Regions from separate parts of the Homo sapiens genome. Here region 1 is linked to region 2. Evidence: promoter capture Hi-C in human tissues and cell types (Jung and others, 2019). All regions are on one chromosome and are shown on one strand. Each heading gives the region's core, a stretch centred on a gene start or on the middle of the fragment in contact. The rest is flanking DNA. Distances are from core to core; before and after follow the strand shown.

Region 1 (3,959 bases), core at 134-2,633, 87 kb before region 2:
GTAACAAGGAACACTTCAAAAAGAGAAACTTTCTGAAAATAAACCAAAAGTGGCCTATGTGCACAGGTACAAGTCCATGAGGCAGCCTCTCAGCTCTTTCATATTGTTTGTCCCAACACCGCTACTTTGCCCAGCCTGACGCACATAGGCATGGAGATGCTGAGCGTCAACACGGTGGAGTCATATCACGTGATCACAGATCCCAGCTTAGGTGCAGTCATTCGAGCCACTGAGCCTGCTGTTCTGTTTAGTGAACATATGCCCCAGGAGCCAGAAGCCAGCCATCTGCCTGAGTCAGCCCTGGCCCCAATATGTGTGAATATGAGTCTAGTGCTTAGTGATACACACTTCCACACAACATGGTCCCTAAATGTAAGACAATCACTCCATTGCATGTGCACCCAAAATCACAGCATCTGTTCCCAAGCTGATGGAAACGCCAATTTGTCAGAGTCTTCAACATGGTACCTTCTGAAGGAAGAGTCAAGGGTGAGTCTGATCATACGTGATCTTTCCTTGTTTGCTGAATTTAGAGAGTAACTCTGCTTAAAATGTTACTCCCTATATGTGTAGGTTGCAGACACCCCTGGATTCTTTGGGGGCAGTTCCCCAGGTCCTGCTACATTTGCTGTTGACATTCCCTTATTTTCTTTCCATCCAGCTCCAGACCCTTGTCCCCAGGTTTTGACCCCACCCAGACCTTTGCCTGGGACGGAAAGCTGCTTCATTTCAGGAGACACCTGAAGTACCTGGGTTGGTTCAGAGACTACCAGAAGTTTTTGGACTTCTTCTAGTCCTTTAATGGCCAAAAGGACTCAAGGGCCTGGCATGTAATGGAAAAGGCATCACCTCTCTCATGGAACGCAGCTGGAAGGACCAACCCCTTCATAGTTACAGGAATCTGAGCTATGAAGACACTAGCCAGGCAACAAGGCCCTGGGCTCAGACACAGATGAAGTTTCTCTGGAAGAGAAATCTGGCCTGTTACAGACCTGGGAAGTGCCAAGGCTTAGCTCCTGAGAAGGATTGCTGGTGCTGACAGCTGGGAGTCAGGACTCCAGGGCCACTTGTATGGAAGCTGGTGCCCGTGGTGCAGGAGGATGGGGGCTCTGGATTCTGCACCACCCCCCATAGACTGGCCCCTCAGAGGGCTCCTGTGGTGTCAGAGCCCTCTCACAAGCGCCTGCCGTGGTTATCAGCTGAAGCTGAGTGCTTGTGGAGTGTGGACAGAGGGCAGAGGGAGAGAAGCAGCCATGGGCTTCCTGCCAGGAAGCTCAGCAGCTCCGAGGAGACTGGAGAGTCATGGGACACAGTGCGTCCTCCCCAGAACAGCCTCCAGCCTGCCAGTTCAGAGCACACGCTTGGAGGCAGGAAGGCTGAGGTCCAACCCCATTCCTGCTATGGGCCAGCTGAGAGCTGTGGACAAGTCATTCGGCTTCTCTGAGCCGCAGTCTTCTCACCTGTAAAGCGGGGGTAATAATACCCTCCTCACAAGGTTGTTGCAAGGCTTTGTGGGGAAAAATACAAAGTGCACAGAGTTGTTCAGTAAGGCGTGGGCCTGCGGGGAAAGGCGGGGCCATGAGCTGGCCAGGGGAGGAAAGGACAGATGGGGACTCCAGATAATGAAAGCATCTTTGCATCCTCAATGATATAATCTGGGTTTGTTGTTGTTGTTGTTGTTTGAGACAGAGTCTCGCTCTGTCCCCCAGGCTGGAGTGCAGTGGTGCAATTTCAGCTCACTGCAACCTGTACTTCCCGGGTTCAAGTGATTCTCCTGCCTCAGCTTCCTGAGTAGCTGGGATTACAGGTGCCCGCCACCATGCCTGGCTAATTTTTCTGTTTTTAATAGAGACAGGGTTTCGCCATGTTGGCCAGGATGGCCTCGAGCTCCTGACCTCAGCTGATCCACCCTCCTCAGCCTCCCAAAGTGCTGCGATTACAGGCATGAGCCACCGCGCCCGGCCCATCTGGAGTTTTTTTGTTTGTTTGTTCCTCATAAAGGCTACGAGGAGAGGAAGGGGCCTAGAACACAGGATGGTGGAAGAGGGGCTCATGGGTGGAGGGGAGGAGAGCAGATGAGCAGGGACCCTCCCCCTTCCTCGGCAACCATGGGGTTTGCCACACATATATTTTTGATGTCCCATGTATCAGGTGGAGATGTCAACTTCTATGAACTGAAATAAACTGTTTCCCTATGTGTAAAATGAAGGGCACTTCAAGTCTGTCCAAGTACAACCAGGTGTCTCTAGATACCCCGAGCCTGAGAAATCACCCGTGTAGATGCACACAGGCATACACTCACACATATGCACAATCACATACACTCACATTTTGTTACCTGGGTTCAAATTAGACTAGCTGATAGTTGAGGATAGCCATGGGTTCCAAGCTTAGGCACATCTTTGCTGTGGCTGTTAGGCCTCACCCAGGTTGAGAGAAGGACTAAGACCCAGGTCTACTTGCTTGTCTGGTCTCTCTATATTATCCTAGTAGCAAGTTAGAGAATTGCGCCAGGGAGAATGCAGCAGAAAAGAGGAGGATATGGAATCATCCTAGGGCAAGCCAGGAGGCAGGGGTACAAGGGCCTTAGCTTTCCTGTACCCCCAGATACAGCCCAGAGTGAATAAAAAGCTGAACTCAGCCCAGGAAGGTCCTGGAAGACCTGCCAGTGCCTGAGTCACACAGTGATGCCTGGGCTGAAACCAGGGGGAGTCAGGGAGTAACATTTACAGGGTCTTCTCCCCATGGCTCTCTCAACCCAGGACCAAGCATGGTGGCTTCCTGAGAGTAGCAACACTGAATCATTGAGTTATTTATTCATTCACCCCACAACCACTTCTGATACAGACCTACACCCTGCTTTGGGGGAGCTCAAAGCTTATTTCCTGCTCCACACCCCCCACCCCCAATGCTTCCTGCGCCACTGACTTCCCAACAGGATAAAGGAAGCCTTCTCCTGGAATCTGAGTGTAATGTGGGCTGGATTCAGGTTAGCCAAATCCAGGGGAAGGCAGGGTTTGAAGCCTCTGGGTTTGGCATGTCCTGGCAAGCAGCGGAGTAAAGAAGATTCTCCTTTACCCTGTGCCCCGGTGCCTCATCTCCACTCTGTGCCTTCTCAAGCTGGTGGCAGGCTGAACCAAATGCCCCCACGTTGGTAAGTGTCACCCACACCCCCTAGCCACCATACCACAGGTCAGCTCCTGACAAACGTGCAGGTGTTAACCAACAGACACGCCACGAGGACACAGAGGGAGGCGACAGATTCTGGCCTGGGGATTCGAGGAAAGCTTCACAAAGGAGGAAGAGATGAACCAGGCCTGAGAGCTGGTTAGAATGTTGACAGAAGACTGAGGGAACATTGTCAGCAAAAGCTCAGAAGCAAGAACAAATGAAGGGGGAAGACAGGTCGCTATGTACCTCAAGTGACTCACCAACTCGGAACAAAACACTTCCCTTTACACGGTTGAAGGGACATGAGCTTTGGAATCCAAAAGATCTGGCCACTTACTAAACATGTGGCCTTAAGTAAATCACTTAACCCCTCTCTACTTCAATTTTCTTATCTGTGAAGTGAAAATATTTCTACCAATTGTACCCATCTCACAGGGCTGTCTGAACCGCAAATATATCATCACAAAAGCAACTAGCTAGTGGTTGCTTAGCATGTGGGAGACACTCGGGAAGTACTGGGTGTCTCCTTCTCTTCCTTCCTTCCTTCTTTGGGCCTCCATTTCCTCTTCCTTGAAATGACAGGAAGCTACTCTGCCCCCACCCCAATGCCATTTTGCTCTGGAGACCAGTGGATGACTGAGACATTCCAAATTCCTCAGATGCAAACAGCAGAAAGAAAAACAGACTGTGGACTAAGTTGGTATCAAATGTACACGTGATTTTCCCAAGACAAGGTGCCTTTAGGCTCTGTGCAAGAGTGAAGCTTCAGTGGAGAGCCAGGGATAGAG
Region 2 (3,777 bases), core at 756-3,255:
TAAAGAGAGTACAGGGATTTTTCCATATATTCTTTACCTAGCTTCCCCTTATGTCAACATCTTGTGTAAGCATAGAACATGTATCAAAACAAAGAATGATCCTGGTACAATAGCATTATGTAAACTATACATCATTTTGGATGCTGAAGTGGTCCAATGATCTTGGGCACGTCAAGACATTTTCCCCAGAATGAAAAACATGTTACTACACCTTGCACCTCTGCCAAAAAGAAAGAAGCATGACACTTAGCAGATCTCTGAGTTTAGAAATCAGCATATTTTGCCCTTGGGAATTCTGTTCCTATCCCTTTAGCAGTTGACGTGGAAGGTGGCTACTGATCAGTAGCTCAGATCAAGAACGGGCTCAGGGCCAGGCGCGGTGGCTCAAGCCTCTAATCCCAGCACTTTGAGAGGCCAAGGTGGGTGGATAGCTTGAGCTCAGGAGTTCGAGACCAGCCTGGCAACATGTTGAAATCCTGTCTCTACAAAAAACACAAAATTAGCTGGGCATGGTGGCAGATGCCTGTAGTTCCAGTTAGTCTGGAGGCTGAGGTGGGAGGATTGCTTGAGTCCAGGAGGCAGGGGTTGTAGTGGGCCACAATCATGCCACTGCACTCCAGCCTAGGTGACAGAGCGAGACCCTGTCTCAAAAAAAAAAAAAAAAAAAAAAAAAGCAAAGAAAAGAAAAAAGAAAGAGCCCAGCACTGTCCTCTGTGGTTAGGGCGGTAAGGGCAACCTTGCCTCTTGGGCTGTATCACCGGACACACCTCACAATGCTAGAGCTCTCTGCAATGGAGCTGCAAAGGCTATGAGGAACCTCCGGCAAGCCCCCAAAGAACCACAGTAGAGCCCTTGAAGGTTCTGGAGCATAGCCAGGCCAACTCTTAACAACAACAAAAAAGAATTGGGAGATCTTTTATTCCAGTAATCTTATTTTAAAGGTAAAAAGGAGGCCTAAAGTCATAGGCATAATTGGCAGAATTGACTTTTGTTCTGGTGTTTCTCTCTGTAGTCATTCTTCACTTTCTGATGCAATTTTAGCACATCTTAAATATTAAAATGTTTTGGAACAAACTTAGAGAAATTATGAAGCTAATTTAGGAAAAGAGCACAAGAATCTTTGATTTACAGGCAATTTGGGGATATAATTTAGCTATATTGAAGCTATGCAGCCAACATGTAGATGGTCATTATTATTACACCATAAATTTTGTGAGGTCAGGAACCTTGTAATTTTAAAAATATTCACTCTGTGCTTTGTTGAATAAACGGATAAAACGTATAGACATACATGAACTACTGATGAGTGGCTGTGTGTGATGTGTAGCTATGTTTATTATTTTTAAGATTCTTATTGTATTTGTTGAAGGCCAAGTTGAGGAGGGAATTGCTTAAGGGAAATGAAAAGGGGTTTAACCACAGTCCCCACCATTCAGGGGCATGCAATCTAGTAGGTTAGGGGACAGGACAGACACACCATGATAGGTGATCGAGACCTTTTAAGAGCAGTGTGATGAAATTGCTATGGGAACTGGGAGGAAACATTTTCTAGGACTGGGGAAACACTGAGTGTGCTAGAAAAACTTTGTGCTCCTGATCAGGGAACCTGGGTTCTATAACTGCTTCTACTACTGATTTGTCCTGTGACTTCGCGCACCAAATTTAGGCTTGTAAATTAAACTCCCAGATTTCTGTTTTCCATTTTGCAGCTCTAGGGGTTGAATGAACCATTAGGTTCCCTCGGACAAATGACCTCCGCTAATTTCCTATTTCGTTGTTTTCTCACCCCTACACCCCACCGTTCCGTGGGTCCCTCCTCTCCAGGAGGCCAGACGAGGAAATAAGCGAGGCCTCTTTAAAGGAGCTCTCAAAGAAAGGTACCCGGGGTATCCCGGGCTGTGGAGCAAGCGCGGGGCGCCGGGGACCCGGGTTTCCCACGCAGCCGGGGACGCCGTTGCGTCACGGCGCCTGCAGCCAATCAGGACGTAGCCTTCCGGGACGCATTACTAGGGCGACGGCCGGACGCCTCCGCGTTACGGGATGAATTAACGGCGGGTTCCGCACGGAGGTTGTGACCCCTACGGAGCCCCAGCTTGCCCACGCACCCCACTCGGCGTCGCGCGGCGTGCCCTGCTTGTCACAGGTGGGAGGCTGGAACTATCAGGTGGGGTTACGGCGCGAGGAAAATGGCGGCGGCCGGGGGATCTCAGAGGTGCAGGAAGGGGAGCTGCAGCCCGGGCTTTTCCTCCTGAGCCATGGACCTTCCCCGGGCCGCGACCTCGGGTAACGGCCACTGGCCTGGCATTTGGGGTCCCGGTGCAGGTGGCGGTAGCGTCGCTGGCTCAGGTGGAAGGAGGCGCGGGGAAGCGACTCCTGGAGGCTGGCTGAGGCGTCAGGTGCTGAGGGGCCGCGCGAGCGGCGAGGGCGAGGTAGCCGCGGGGCGAAGAGGGTCCCGTCGGTGTTTACGCTAGGAGCGTCAAAACCTTCCTCCTGCGACCTCAGCGGGTCTGGGAGCTGCACTGTCCCGGAACGCAACCTGAGGTCTGACCCTGTTAAATCCCATGCACTAAAACGTCTCAAGTGGTCACCACGTGCGGGGCTTCGACGAGAGCCGTGGAGAGCAGGGGCTGGGGTTGTCTTCCCTGCGAGTCCTGCAGGCGCCAAAGGCCTGCCTGTAGGTGCCAGAGTGGCAGTGCCGCGAAAAGAAAGGTAGGCCCTAGCCAGGGCGGATGCCAAACCTGATCTTTAAGGTGTATCGTAGCTTCTAATTGCCCATTTGAAGAAAAGAAGTTGAAAGATAAGGCACTTAGATGTGGTTGTGGAGATGTTTTGCTTTCTTGTACTTCCCTGGTTCAGGTGGCTTCCCTGGAAATACTGCATCTGCCTTTAAAGTTCATTAACTGTGTTTCTTGTGTACATGGCAGTAGATGAGATTAGGGATTGAAGTCACTTTAAGTCCAAGAAAAGTATTGAAGATATGTGTTGAAGGCATTACCAAGATGAAATATTTATTCATATCATTAACTTATTTGTTCAAAGAAACGTCATCTCATGAAGTATAACTACGTGGGTTAGTTTTCAAAAAACTGACTTGATGAAAGCCCTTTTTGTAAAACATATTTTTTGAGAGTAAGTAAAAATACATCATCACTTTTTCGTTTAGGTTTCTGTTGCACATTGTACTTTGATATGCTTGATATGACAGATAAGCATAATGTTAACTGACTTTTGTTTTTGGTAGTAGGCTTGATTTTATGGAGTAGTACCTTGTTCTGTAACTGAGAAAAACGTAATAGCGCTTGTGTTTCAGTCATCAATAGCTGCAATCTCTGGAGTGCCAACTATGTGTCAGTTTCTGTGAAAGCTAGGCTTCTCCTACTTTTTAATTTGAACACATGGTCGTCTGCATCTGCCCCCACCAGGTCTTTAGGCTGGCTGTTGCTGACAACCAGGAGGAAGCAATGGGGAAAACCCAAAAGATTCTTCCAAACTGGATCCATGGAGATTTGGTCAGTTTGTCCTGGGGTTGAGGTTATGGGTGGATTCTAGTCCAAACTCTGCCACTTAAAAATATCTTAGGGTAATCATACAACTTCACTATTGGTGTCTTATCTCTAAAGTGAGTATTTCTTATTCAAACAATCTCATTGCACTGTTGGGAGGAAAAAGAAAAGACAGTATGTGTGAAAGGGCTTTAAAAAGTTAAAAAAACAGTGAAAATATTTGAAATTTATTCCTCTGCATTCATGTACTCTGCCAGGCACTGAATCCGGGGAC

What was found. The method cuts DNA at HindIII sites, captures the fragments that hold promoters and counts their contacts. A contact is called where the count stands out against the background at its distance.
Region 1: a fragment that was not itself captured here is called in contact with the fragment with the promoter of LCLAT1 in region 2 in 2 of the 25 tissues and cell types used here (aorta and pancreas).

The regions. Positions count from the first base shown.
Region 1 is chr2:30,358,807-30,362,765 of GRCh38, forward strand. No RefSeq gene overlaps it. Among named protein-coding and RNA genes, the nearest start is that of LINC01936, 14 kb to the left of the region's middle. The HindIII fragment of the contact is 3,397 bases long and covers 1-3,082 here.
Region 2 is chr2:30,445,241-30,449,017 of GRCh38, forward strand. It overlaps LCLAT1 (lysocardiolipin acyltransferase 1), which reads left to right and starts at 2,006. Exons shown (of 6, transcript NM_001002257.3): 1 at 2,006-2,143. RefSeq lists enhancers at 1,696-2,433, 1,737-1,806, 1,847-1,906, 2,117-2,236, 2,434-3,170. The HindIII fragment of the contact is 9,254 bases long and covers 1-3,777 here.